4 separate regions of the Homo sapiens genome follow, and regions 1, 2 and 4 are each linked to region 3. The links are contacts of gene promoters, found by promoter capture Hi-C in blood cells and fetal thymus (Javierre and others, 2016). All regions are on one chromosome and are shown on one strand. Each heading gives the region's core, a stretch centred on a gene start or on the middle of the fragment in contact. The rest is flanking DNA. Distances are from core to core; before and after follow the strand shown.

Region 1 (2,990 bases), core at 147-2,646, 440 kb after region 3:
TCGGGCTGGTCTGGAACTCCCAACCTCAGGTGAACCGCCCACCTCGGCCTCCCAAAGTGCCAGGATTACAGGTGTTTAAGTTACCGCACCCGGCCAATACACATTGATCTACACAAGAGATGCAAAGAAACAGAAAACATGCAAAATATTAACAAATGATCAGTCTACAACAAGGATATATAATAGGTGTTCAATATTCTGGCCTTTCACATTTTCTTTGGTTTAGAATATTCAATCTACAGATAGCCTGGGCAACAAACCAAGACCCTGTCTTTAAAACGTAAATAAATAAATAAAAATATATGAGGGGGAAGGCCAGGCGCGGTGGCTTATACCTGTAATTCCAGCACTTTGGGAGTCCGAGGAGGGTGGATCACGAGGTCAGGAGTTCGAGACCAGCCCAACCAACATGGTGAAACCCCGTCTCTACTAAAAATGCAAAATTAGCCGGGCGTGGTGGCACATGCCTGTAATCCCAGTTACTCAGCATGCTGAGGCAGGAGAATCGCTTGGACCGGGAGACAGAGTTTACAGTGAGCCTATATCACGCCATTGCACTCCAGCCTGGGCAATAAGAGCGAAACTCCGTCTCAAAATATGTATATATACGAGAGGAAAAACGCTGAATCAAAACATGTCTCTTTCACAGTTAATACAACTGTAATTTCTGATACTGGTATAATGAAGGCGGCATCCTACTTCCTGGAAGCCCCTCCGTTTTGAAGCTCTTTGGGAGGTACTGACCTAGGAAGTTCAGCTGCTTTTGATCTCAAAAACACAGCGGAGTATTGCTACTTTGCTTTATAACTGTGGCAATATTTGCTTTTATTTCTATAAACCTACAACTCCTGCACACTTGACAAAGCATTTAACTGCTGAGCAATTTCGCAAACTTCAATAAGCGATGCCCTCCCACAGCCAGATCATCTCCTCCGTCCAGGGCTCACCGGAACGCACTGCAATCGCCCTGTCGGTGACAAGAGGACGCTGGGGCCCTTTTCCACAACAGCTGAGATGCTTTTCCTTCTGGAGAAAGGACACAAAGGTTGACTGGCTGCTTTTAAACAGAGGGGCACGGTGGTTGGAGAAAAAAACACGTCTCCACCGGGGACCCTGGGCCAGGCCCAGACTGATGCGGGCGCAGCGGGAAGAGGCGCTCAGAAGAGAAGGCGGGAACCCCCCGCCTCGGGGTCCTGGCGGGGAGGAGGCGCCGCTTCTCCGGAGCAGCAGCGGGAGGCCGGCGCGTCTCAGACCTAGCAGAAGTCCGGAGCGTCACCCTCCGACCCTCGCTCCGCCTCCCGCTAGGCCCTCCTGCCCCGCCCTGCCTAGGTTGAGCATGAGCGCTGGCTGAGGTGAAAACCCAGCTAGGAAGCTGCTGGAGAGCGGGGAATACGTATAGCTGCGCGCCGGCTGGCACTTCCGCTTCCGGTTGCGCACGGCATTAAGTGTAGGGGCCGAGCCCCAAGAGCTTTGGAATGAGGATGATGTGAAGCTGAGAGAAGAGCTGGGGCCACCTCTTCGACACGCGTACAGAAAAGTCCCGTTTTCTCGCATCCCAGGTGGACCAGGATCCAGATCAATCTGTCGATATTGGGAACGACGCCGGACCAGGAAACCCAGCGCCAAGGGCCGGGTTGGAGGCGGGGACTGGCGCAGCGGGCGGGGCACGCGTGGAGGCGTCACCTAAGGCTTCGATTGCAGACAGCGGGATGCTCATCGAGTGCTTTTCTTTTCTTTTTTAATTTCTCTTTTTAGTTTTTTGAGATAAGGCTCCGGTCTGTCGCCTAGGCTGGAGTGCAGTGGCTCGGTCATAGATCATTGCAGCCTGGAATTCCTGCGCTGAAGCTATCCTCCCGCCTCGGCCTCCGGAGTAGCTTGGACCACAGTTGGGCCCATCACGCCCAGCTAAGTTATCTTTTTCTAGACACTTGGGTCTCACTGTGTTCCCTAGGCTGGTCTCGAACTCCTGAGCCTAAAGGATCCTCCCCCCTCGGCCTCCCAAGCAGCTTGGACCACAGGTGTGTGCCACCACGCCTGGCTAATTTATTTTTATTTTATTTTTATTTTTTTGTAGAGACAGGGTCTCTCTTTGTTACCCAGGCTGATCTGGAACTCCTGGGCTCCAGTGATCCTTCCACCTTGGCCTCCCAAAGTGCTGGGATTATAGGCGTGAGCCACCACCCTAGGGAAATTCTTTTCTGCAGGATTTTCTCCTTGTTTCTTCAACCCTCTGCAGGGATATAAACATATTTACAAAGATAATCCCGCTGTAGTCCTAGCTACTGCGGGAGAATCGCTTGAGCCCAGGAGTTCGAGACCAGCGACACCCTGTTTGAAAGATTAACCTGATGGGGCTGGGGGCAGTGGCTCACGCCTGTAATCCCAGCACTTTGGGAAGCCGAGGCGGGTGGAACACGTGAGTTCAGGAGTTCGAGACCAGCCTGGCCAACATGCCGAAACCCCATCTCTACTAAAAATATTTTTTAAAAAATAGCCGGGTGTGGTGGTGGGCGCCTGTAATCCCAGCTACTCGAGAGGCTGAGGCAGGAGAATTGCTTGAACCTAGGAGACTGAGGTTGCAGTGAGCTGATACGATGCCACAGTACTCCAGCCTGGGCGACAGAGTGAGACTCCGTCTCAAAAAAAAAAAAAAAAAGATTAACCTGTTAATCCATAAAATGCTCTGTGCCTCTGATACATTCAGTTCCTTCTTTAGGCCTTTAGTTTTGTTGTGATACAATTATCATAGCATACAATTAACCTGTTTAAAGTGTACAGTTTCGTGGCTTTTTGTATATTCATATATTTGTGCATCGATCATCACAATCAATTTTAGAACATTTTCATGACCACAAAAATAAACCCAGTACCCTAGCCATGATCACCCAATCTGCTCATCCAGCCCCACCCCCACCCCCAGAGTCCAAAGCAACAGCTAATCTTTCTGTCTGTATAGATTGCCTACTGTAGATATTGCCTGTAGAATTAGA
Region 2 (2,700 bases), core at 54-2,553, 360 kb after region 3:
GGAAGGCCGCAGGGTCCTCTGCCTAGGAAAACCAGAGACCTTTGTTCACTTGTTTATCTGCTGACCTTCCCTCTACTATTGTCCTATGACCCTGCCAAATCCCCCTCTGCGAGAAACACCCAAGAATGATCAATTAAAAAAAAAAAATAGCCAGGTGTGGTGGCAGGTGCCTGTAATCCCAGCTACTCGGGAGGCTGAGGCAGGAGAATCGCTTCAACCCAGGAAGCAGAGGTTGCAGTGAGCCGAGATCGTGCCAATGCACTCTAGCTTGGGCAATAAAAGCAAAACTCCATGTCAAAAAAAAAAAAAAAGTGGTGTTTCAGATCGATAGGGAAAAAATGCCATTTGTAATGGAAAGTCTAAGACAGTTGGTTAGCTATCAGAGAAAAGATGAAATTAAATCTATACTTCATATCATATACAATATACTCCAAATGGACTAGTAATCTAAGTGTGAAAAATAAAACCATACACGCATGTAAGGTGTTCAAGTGATTTCTTGGCTGAGTAAGGAAAAAGATGTAACTACAAGGCGGCAATAGCATACAAGCTTCATTTGGGATGTGCTTTCACAGGTTAGCAGTTGCGGAGGTAGGAAACAGCAAGAGAGTATCCACAGGCTTCTACCTGTGGGTCACTTCTCAGAAAGCGTGGAAAGGAAGAGAGACTCCCAGAGGAGAAAGGGAATCAAAGAGGGGGCTTATAAATAACTAAATGATGATACTCACCAAACTGACAGCATATCTTCCAGTTAAAAAGCTCTGAAGGGCCGGGCAAGAAGGCTCATGCCTATAATCCCAGCACTTTGGGAGGCCAGTGGGGCGGATCACGAGGACAGGTGTTCAAGACCAGCCTGACCAACATGGTGAAACCCCATCTCTACTAAAAATACAAAAATTAGCCGGGCGTGGTGGCGTGCACCTGTAATCCCAGCTACTCAGGAGGCTGAGGCAGGAGAAACACTCGAAGCCGGGAGGTGGAAGTTGCAGTGAGCCGAGATCTTGCCACTGCACTCCAGTCTGGACAACAGAGTGAGACTCCATCTCAAAAGAAAAAAAAAAAAAAAGGTTCTGCAGGACAGCAGGGGGATGGGATTTTCATAGCCTCTGGAGTTATCTTATCTATGGCTATCAGATATTGCACATAATTTCAGAGAATACAAAGAAGGCACACTCGAGATGGCTAAAAATAGGCTTGTTCATGCTATGTTTCAAACAATCAAGTGTGTTAAAATTGCAGTTTGGCAGGGATTGGCTATTGTGAATACTAGTGAGATAAACATTGGTGTACAAATATTTCTTTGAGCACCTGCTCTCAACACTTTTGGATATATATGCCAAAGTGGAATGTCTGGATCATATGGTAATTCTGTTTAATCTTGTTTGTTTGTTTGAGATAGGGTCTCACTCTGTTGTCTAGGCTGGAATGCAGTGACATGATCATGGATTACTGCAGTCCTCAACCTACTGAGCTCAGGTAATCATCCCACCTTAGCCTCTCGAGTAGCAGGGATTACAAGTGCATGCCACCACCATGCCTGGCTGAATTAAAAAATCTTTTTTGTAAAAATGAAATCTCACAATATGCCCAGGCTGGTCTTGAACTCTTAGTCTCAAGAAATCCCTCACCCTGAGCCTCCCAAAGTGCTGGGATTACAGGTGTGAGCCATCACATCCAGCATGGTTTTGATTTTCATTTTCATGATGTTTAGTGATGTTAAGCATCTTTTCATGAGCATCTTTTCCTGTGTTTATTGGCCATCTGTGTATCTTCTTTGGTGATATTATTCAAGTCCTTTTTCTGTATTTGAATTGGGTTTTGTTGTTGTTACTCTCGGGTTCTAGAAATTTTAAAAATAAACTCCAGATATTTGTCCCCAGTCGGATACAGGACTTGAAAATATTTTCTCCCATTTGTAGATTGTCTTTTCATTCTCTTGTTATTATGCTTTGATGCAAAAAATTTGTATTATTGATTAGGTTCAACTCATAATTTTTCTTGTGTTGCCTGTGTGGTTGATGACATAACTAAGAAGTCATTTCCAATTCCAATATCATGAAGCTTTCTCACCTATGTTTTCTTCTAATAGGTTTTCAGCTCTAGCTCTTACACTACACTTAGGTTTTTGATCCATTTTTTAAAAATCATGCCACATTATTATTATTATTAAGATGGAGGCTTGCTGTCTCCCAGGCTGGAGTGCAGTGGTGCGATCTCAGCTCACTGCAACCTCTACCTCCCAGGTTCAAGTGATTCTCCTGCCATTGCTTCCTGAGTAGCTGGGATTACAGGTGCATGCCACCATGCCCGGCTACTTTTTGTATTTCTTTTTAGTAAAGACAGGGCTTCACCATGTTGGTCAAGCTGATCTCGAACACCTGACCTCGTGATCCACCCACCTCGGCCTTCCAAAGTGCTGGGATTAGAGGCGTGAGCCACTGTGCCCGGCCATGCCACATTATTTTTAATTATGTACAAAGATCTAAAATGTCACTCAGGGACCATTTCATCCACCACTCTGTTTGGCCACCAGTCTTTTGTCTGTCTCTTCTGCAATAGTGAGGCGGATACCCTTTCCTCGGGGAAGAGAAATCCATGGTCTGTTGCCCTTGCCAATAACAAAAATGTTGGAAAATCTAGTGGCAAATCTGTTGCCTTTGGCATCCTTCACGTAAACCACTTTGAAAGATCGAGGGTGCC
Region 3 (2,910 bases), core at 294-2,793:
CTCTAACACTCACCGCGAAGGTCTGCAGCTTCACTCCTGAGCCAGCAAGACCACGAACCCACCAGAAGGAAGAAACTCCGAGCACATCCGAACATCAGAAGGAACAAACTCCAGACGTGCCACCTTAAGATCTGTAACACTCACCACGAGGGTCCCCGGCTTCATTCTTGGAGTCGGTGAGACCAAGAACCCACCAATTCCGGACACATTAGTACAGGTCTTTGAATAAATTTTGCTTCTAACAGAAGTTACTATTTATTCCTAATTAGATGGGCAGGAAAGTCTTTGAAGAGGAACCTCTACTTTACTTTTTACTGTAGAGAGAGTAGTCTTTGATCTTGGGGAGATGGGGTTTTTCCTTTTGGTTTAGCTTCAGGAAGTTTGTGTTAATTGGCCTTAGGTGCCCTGCCCCCAGCCCCAGGTGTTTTTCCTTTGATTTAACTTTAGGAAATTATCACGAATTGGCCTTAGATTCCCCGACCCCAGATCTTGGTGTTTTCACTTTTAGGAAGTCCGCATGAATCTTATCTATGCTCTTAACTACGTCCTAATTTTTGTGTTTTTTGTCTTTTTTATAGGAATAGGGTTTTGCCATATTGCCCAGGCTGGTCTCGAACTCCTGAGCTCAAGTGGTCTGCCTGCCTCAGCCTCCCAAAGTGCTGGGATCACTGGCGTGAGCCATCAGGCCCAGCCTCTATGTGCTAATTTTTGAACAAATTCCAATAGGAGCATTCTAGTCTCTGAGTGTGAGATGACCAAAAATCAAGCCCTTGTGAGGCTGAATAGAGTCGGGAGGCAGGGAACTTAAGGCTGTTTCAGGCCGACTTCCTAGAACTAAATTGAAAGGAAAACCCTCACTTTCCTCGCCTAAATAACAAAAGGACCAGAGGCTACTCCCTTTGACCTTTTCTGCTGGCAGATAGGAAATTGGCTGTCTGCAACAAATCAGACTGATGGCCGGTTGAGTCTTCATTTGCATAGAAGTGTAACTTTGTAACGTCGTAACTTCACCCTAGCCTTTGATTGGTTGCTTTTTGCAACCAATCAGATGTTTGCACAGGAGTGTGACCTTTGTAACTTCAGACTCTGGTTGGCTGCTTTCTGCAACCAATCAGACTGAACGCGGGCTACCGCTTCATTTACAGGAGGTGAGCATGAAGTGGCCAATGGGAAAATTCTAGGAGGTATTGGGACTCATGAAGGTTCTGTTTCGGAGCCCTTGAGCTGCCGCTTGGCCAGTTCCCACACTGTGGAGTATGCTTTCGTTTTCAACAAATCCCAGCTCTTGTTCTTTTGTTGCTTCATTCTTTCTTTGCTTTGCTGGGCGTTTTGTCTAATTCTTTGTTCAAAACGCCAGTAACCTGGACAGCTTGCAGTCAAGACCCCCTACCGGTGACACTTGCGCTCTTCGGGGAGGTAAACAGCATTTCCTCTCAGCTCTGGGTTGGAAAAAGCCGCAGCAGCTGATGGGCCCGGGAACCCGAGGCCCCGCCCCCTAGGTGGTCCTAGCCTTTGCGCGTGCGCGGCGTGTCTGCGTGGGCGCATGCGCATAACGGCCGCCATCTTAACAGCGCGTTCCCGTTGGCGTCTGAGGTAAGTTTTTGTTTCTGGGCGGCGTTCGGTGGTGTCCCGGTGCAGCCACGCGAGAGTAGAAGGGTGGAAAGGGGAGGTGCCCAGTGAAATGGAGCCTGTCCCGTGCACTTTCGGGCATTTCGAGCATCTTGTGGGCTCTCCCAAGTCGCGGCCCCTCCTCTGAGAGCCACAGTCAGGTCTGTCCTCAGGGGTCGAGGCGGCTGCGCTGGGGCCTCGGCCCGGGAGGAGGCGGGGGGCACGGCCTTTCCATTTTCCCTGCTCCCCTCTGCAGAAGCCTCATAGGGCCCGGCGCGGCGGCTCACGCCTGTCATTCCCAGCGCTTTGGGCGGATTGGGTAGGAGGATTACTTGAGGCCAGGAGTTCAAGACCAGGCAGGGCAACATAGGGAGACCCCCCCCCCCAACCATCTCTAATGGAAAAAAAAAAAAAAGTCTCCACATCCAGCGTTGTGCCTTTTCTCTATAAGGAACAGCATCTCTGCCTTCCTGTTCACGGTGACCTTCGCTTGGTGTCCTCCTGGCCTCAGCAACCTGACAATTCTGTCGTGTCCCGGTGAGCACTTCATGCACTTGTTCTGGCTGTGGGTGTCGGGTCTTGAAGTTTAAGTTGTGTCGAGGTGGAAAGAAACCTTTTCAGGTGGTTGTTCGAGAGCACATGGATCTGATACCATCGAATGCATGAGTGGATGAATGCACATAACTGTAAAATTTACCACCAAGGAAAAACACAGGACTACTCAACTGTGGTTCCAGGCCATCACCTAGATCTCACTCTAGCGCCCTGTAGATTCCCCCAGAGGTTCAAAACGAGGGCATCCCCAGGAACACGGTGCGGGCTGATTTACTAGCAGGAGGGATTGAATTGATAATGAATGCGAAGATAACTTTTGACAGGTGGGTTTTCTACCAGTTACTCATTTGAAAGTCTTACTGAGGGCGGGGCAAGGTGGCTCACACCTGTAATCCCAGCGTTTTGGGAGGCTGAGGCTGGAGGATCGCTTGAGCCCAGGAATTTGATGCCAACCTGGAAAAAATAGGGCAAGCCTCTGTCTCTACTAAAAATAAAAAATTAGCTGGGCATGGTGGTGTCTGTGGTCCCATCCACTTTGGAGGCCGAGATGCGAGGATCACTTGAGCATGGGAGGTCGAGGCTGCTGTGAGCCATTATTGTGTCACTGCATTCCAGCTTAGGCAACAGAGTGAGACCCTGTTTCAAAAAGAAGAAAAAAAAACAAATACTGATCTAGAGAACATCTGTAGCTCGAGTAAAACAAATGTCTTTAGTCCAGGTGTGGTGGCTCACGCCTGTAATCCCAGC
Region 4 (2,733 bases), core at 185-2,684, 480 kb after region 3:
TAGGGGTGGGGAGGTTCCAAAAGGGGAGAAGCTCTGTCTGATGTCCCATCACCCCATCACCCCTTGGGGCAAGGCCCATGTTAGAGGTCACTAAGGCAGAATGAATTCTCCATAGGGTAAGCCCAGGAAGAAGACACCTGTAACCAGTGGTATGCCACAGCTCAGGAGAGCCAAATGCTGAATCTTCAACTATTTTGTGAGCCAGTTGTTAAACTGTTGGTAGCTTGAAACCAGCTGTGGTGAGACAGTGTTTACACCATAGTAATCTGCAAATGCTACAGATCAGGGCCTTCTTCCCCCACCTGCTAGCACTGCCTGTAAACACTTACCTGCTTCAAAATTAATGCCTGCTGGCCAGTTGCAGCGGCTCACACCTGTAATCCCAGCACTTTGGGACGCTAAAGCAGGCGGATCACTTAAGGCCAGGAGTTTGAGACCAGCCTGGCCAACATGGTGAAACCCCATCTCCTAAAAATATAAAAATTGGCTGGGTGTGGTGGCATGTGCCTGTAATCCCAGGTACTCAGGAGGCTGAGGCAGGCTGCAGCATAAACCTTGGAGGCAGAGGTTGCAGTGAGCTGAGATCGCACCATTGCACTCCAGCTTAGGTGACAGAGTGAGACTAGCATCTCCAAAAAACAAACAAAAAAACTAAAACGAATGCCTGCTGCTCCCTCCCTTCCAACTGGAAAGGCAGAGAGGAAAAAGAAAGGAAGCTTTTTTGCCCTAGAGTTGTTCCAGGTTGGGGCATCGGCAATGCACTTCCAGAACCACCTGCAGAGTCCAGCACAGGGCTGGTGTTGAGTCACCCTCATGTTCTCCCAAACTGACCCCAGCTCTCCAGACACTCTCTGCAAGCAAAACAAACCTCATTTCCCTCCTTGTTCCCACAGGCTCTGAGACTTCACCAATCTCTGTTTCTACCTGGTTCAACCCAGCCCCCTGATGTCCTGGGCTGGAGCTGCTGGGGTGGTCACAGCATTGGACAATCAGACCTTGACTAGGGCCACATCAGGGGCACACTCATAGCCTAGTCCTCATGTGGCCAGATGGAGAAGGAATTTCAGGTGAGGTGGCTCATGCCTGTAATCCCAGTATTTTGGGAGGCCAAGGCAGGAGGATCATTTGCACTCAGGAGTTAGAGACCAGCCTGGGCAACACAGTGAGACCCCCATCTCTACAAAAAATAAAAAGTAGCTAGGTGTGGTGGCACATTCCTGTGGTCCCAGCTACTTGGGAGGCTGAAGTAGGATGGCTTGAGCCCAGGAGTTCGAGACCAGTCTTGGCAACATAGGGAGACTCCTGTCTCTGTCTGTCTACCTGTCTGTCTATCTATCTATCTATATTTATTTTTGAAACAGAGTCTCTCTCTGTTGCCCAGGCTGGAGTACAGTGGCACAATCTCGGCTCTCTGCAACCTCCTATCTATCTATCTATATTTATTTTTGAAACAGAGTCTCTCTCTGTTGCCCAGACTGGAGTGCAGTGGTACAATCTCGGCTCTCTGCAACCTCCCACTCCAGGGTTCAAGCGATTCTCCTGCCTCAGCCTCCTGAGTAGCTGGGATTATAGGCATGTGCCACCAAGTCCAGCTAATCTTTGTATTTTTAGTAGAGACGGGGTTTCACCATGTTGGCCAGGCTGGTCTCGAACTCCTGACCTCAGATGATCCTCCCGCCTTGGTGTCCCAAAGTGCTGGGATTACAGGCATGGGACACACCGTGCCTGGCCCCATCTCTATTTAAAAAAAAAAAAAAAAAAAAAAAAAAGGTTGGGCGCAGTGGCTCACACCTGTAATCCCAGCACTTTGGGAGGCCAAGGTGGGCAGATCACAAGGTCAGGAGTTTGAGACCAGCCTGACCAATATGGTGAAACTCCAACTCTACTAAAAATACAAAAATTAGCCAGGCATGGTGGCACACGCCTGTATTCCCAGCTACTTAGGAGGCTGAGGCAGGAGAATCATTTGATCCTGGGAGGCAGAGGTTGCAGTGAGCTAAGATTGCACCACTGCACCACTCCAGCCTGGGCAACAGATCAAGACTCCGTTTCAAAAAAAAAAAAAAAAGAGAGACAGAAAGAGAAGGAATTTCTACTGCAACTCTGAGTGGGAAGAGCATGGGAGGAACATCTCTGGCTCTTCTCTGATGGGTAAGCTTGGAATAAGAAACCAAGTGTACCCAGCTCAGCTCTCTTCTCCAACCTGGCTCTAAGCACCAGAGGAGGCACCTGGGCCTGCTGAGCAGGTGGTGAACCCACAGAGCCGGGGCTTAGCCACACACAGCAACGCTCATCTCACGGGTAGGCACTCACACTTATAATCTGACACCTGCATCTTTCAAGTGGTTCAGACTCGAAAGGCAGGAAAAGGTGGTGTTACTTACTGAACCCCTAAAGCCTGAGCCACCTGCAAGGCCCTGCCCACTCCTGTCCCCATTATCTCCTTTTGTTTTATTTTTTTTTTTTTTGAGACAGGGTCTCACTCTGTCACCCAGTCTGGAGTGCAGTGGTGATCACAGTTCACTGCAACCTCCGAGTCCCAGGCTTAAGCAATCCTCCCACCTCAGCCTCCTGAATAGCTGGGATACCAGCTGGGTAGATGCACACCACCACACCTGGCTAATTTTTTCTGTAGAGACAGGGTTTCACCATGTTGCCCAAGCTGGTCTCAAACTCCTGAACTCAAAGTGATTCACTTGCCTCAGATGTCCCAGGTTGGCCTTAAACTCCTGG

What was found. Contacts are between HindIII fragments. The CHiCAGO score rates a contact against its expected background, and 5 or more counts as called.
Region 1: a contact is called between the fragment with the promoter of ZNF846 here and the fragment with the promoter of ZNF559 in region 3, in 12 of 17 cell types (total CD8 T cells, non-activated CD4 T cells, neutrophils and 9 more). The highest score is 13.6, in total CD8 T cells.
Region 2: a contact is called between a fragment that was not itself captured here and the fragment with the promoter of ZNF559 in region 3, in 2 of 17 cell types (activated CD4 T cells and monocytes). The highest score is 6.1, in activated CD4 T cells.
Region 4: a contact is called between a fragment that was not itself captured here and the fragment with the promoter of ZNF559 in region 3, in 2 of 17 cell types (non-activated CD4 T cells and naive CD4 T cells). The highest score is 5.5, in non-activated CD4 T cells.

What each region holds. Positions count from the first base shown.
Region 1 is chr19:9,767,342-9,770,331 of GRCh38, forward strand. ZNF846 (zinc finger protein 846) reads right to left here and starts at 1,397. Exons shown (of 6, transcript NM_001077624.3): 1 at 948-1,397. RefSeq lists a silencer at 1,212-1,381 and enhancers at 1,325-2,190, 1,462-1,681. The HindIII fragment of the contact is 9,482 bases long and covers 1-2,990 here.
Region 2 is chr19:9,680,788-9,683,487 of GRCh38, forward strand. It overlaps the pseudogene RPS4XP22. Among named protein-coding and RNA genes, the nearest start is that of ZNF562, 7.0 kb to the left of the region's middle. RefSeq lists an enhancer at 1-222. The HindIII fragment of the contact is 1,511 bases long and covers 549-2,059 here.
Region 3 is chr19:9,322,636-9,325,545 of GRCh38, forward strand. ZNF559 (zinc finger protein 559) reads left to right here and starts at 1,544. Exons shown (of 7, transcript NM_032497.3): 1 at 1,544-1,593; 2 at 2,060-2,145. It overlaps ZNF559-ZNF177 (ZNF559-ZNF177 readthrough), which reads left to right and starts at 1,544. Exons shown (of 13, transcript NM_001384659.1): 1 at 1,544-1,593; 2 at 2,060-2,145. RefSeq lists an enhancer at 1,388-1,637 and a silencer at 1,808-1,947. The HindIII fragment of the contact is 3,488 bases long and covers 1-2,910 here.
Region 4 is chr19:9,806,738-9,809,470 of GRCh38, forward strand. No RefSeq gene overlaps it. Among named protein-coding and RNA genes, the nearest start is that of FBXL12, 11 kb to the right of the region's middle. The HindIII fragment of the contact is 1,440 bases long and covers 715-2,154 here.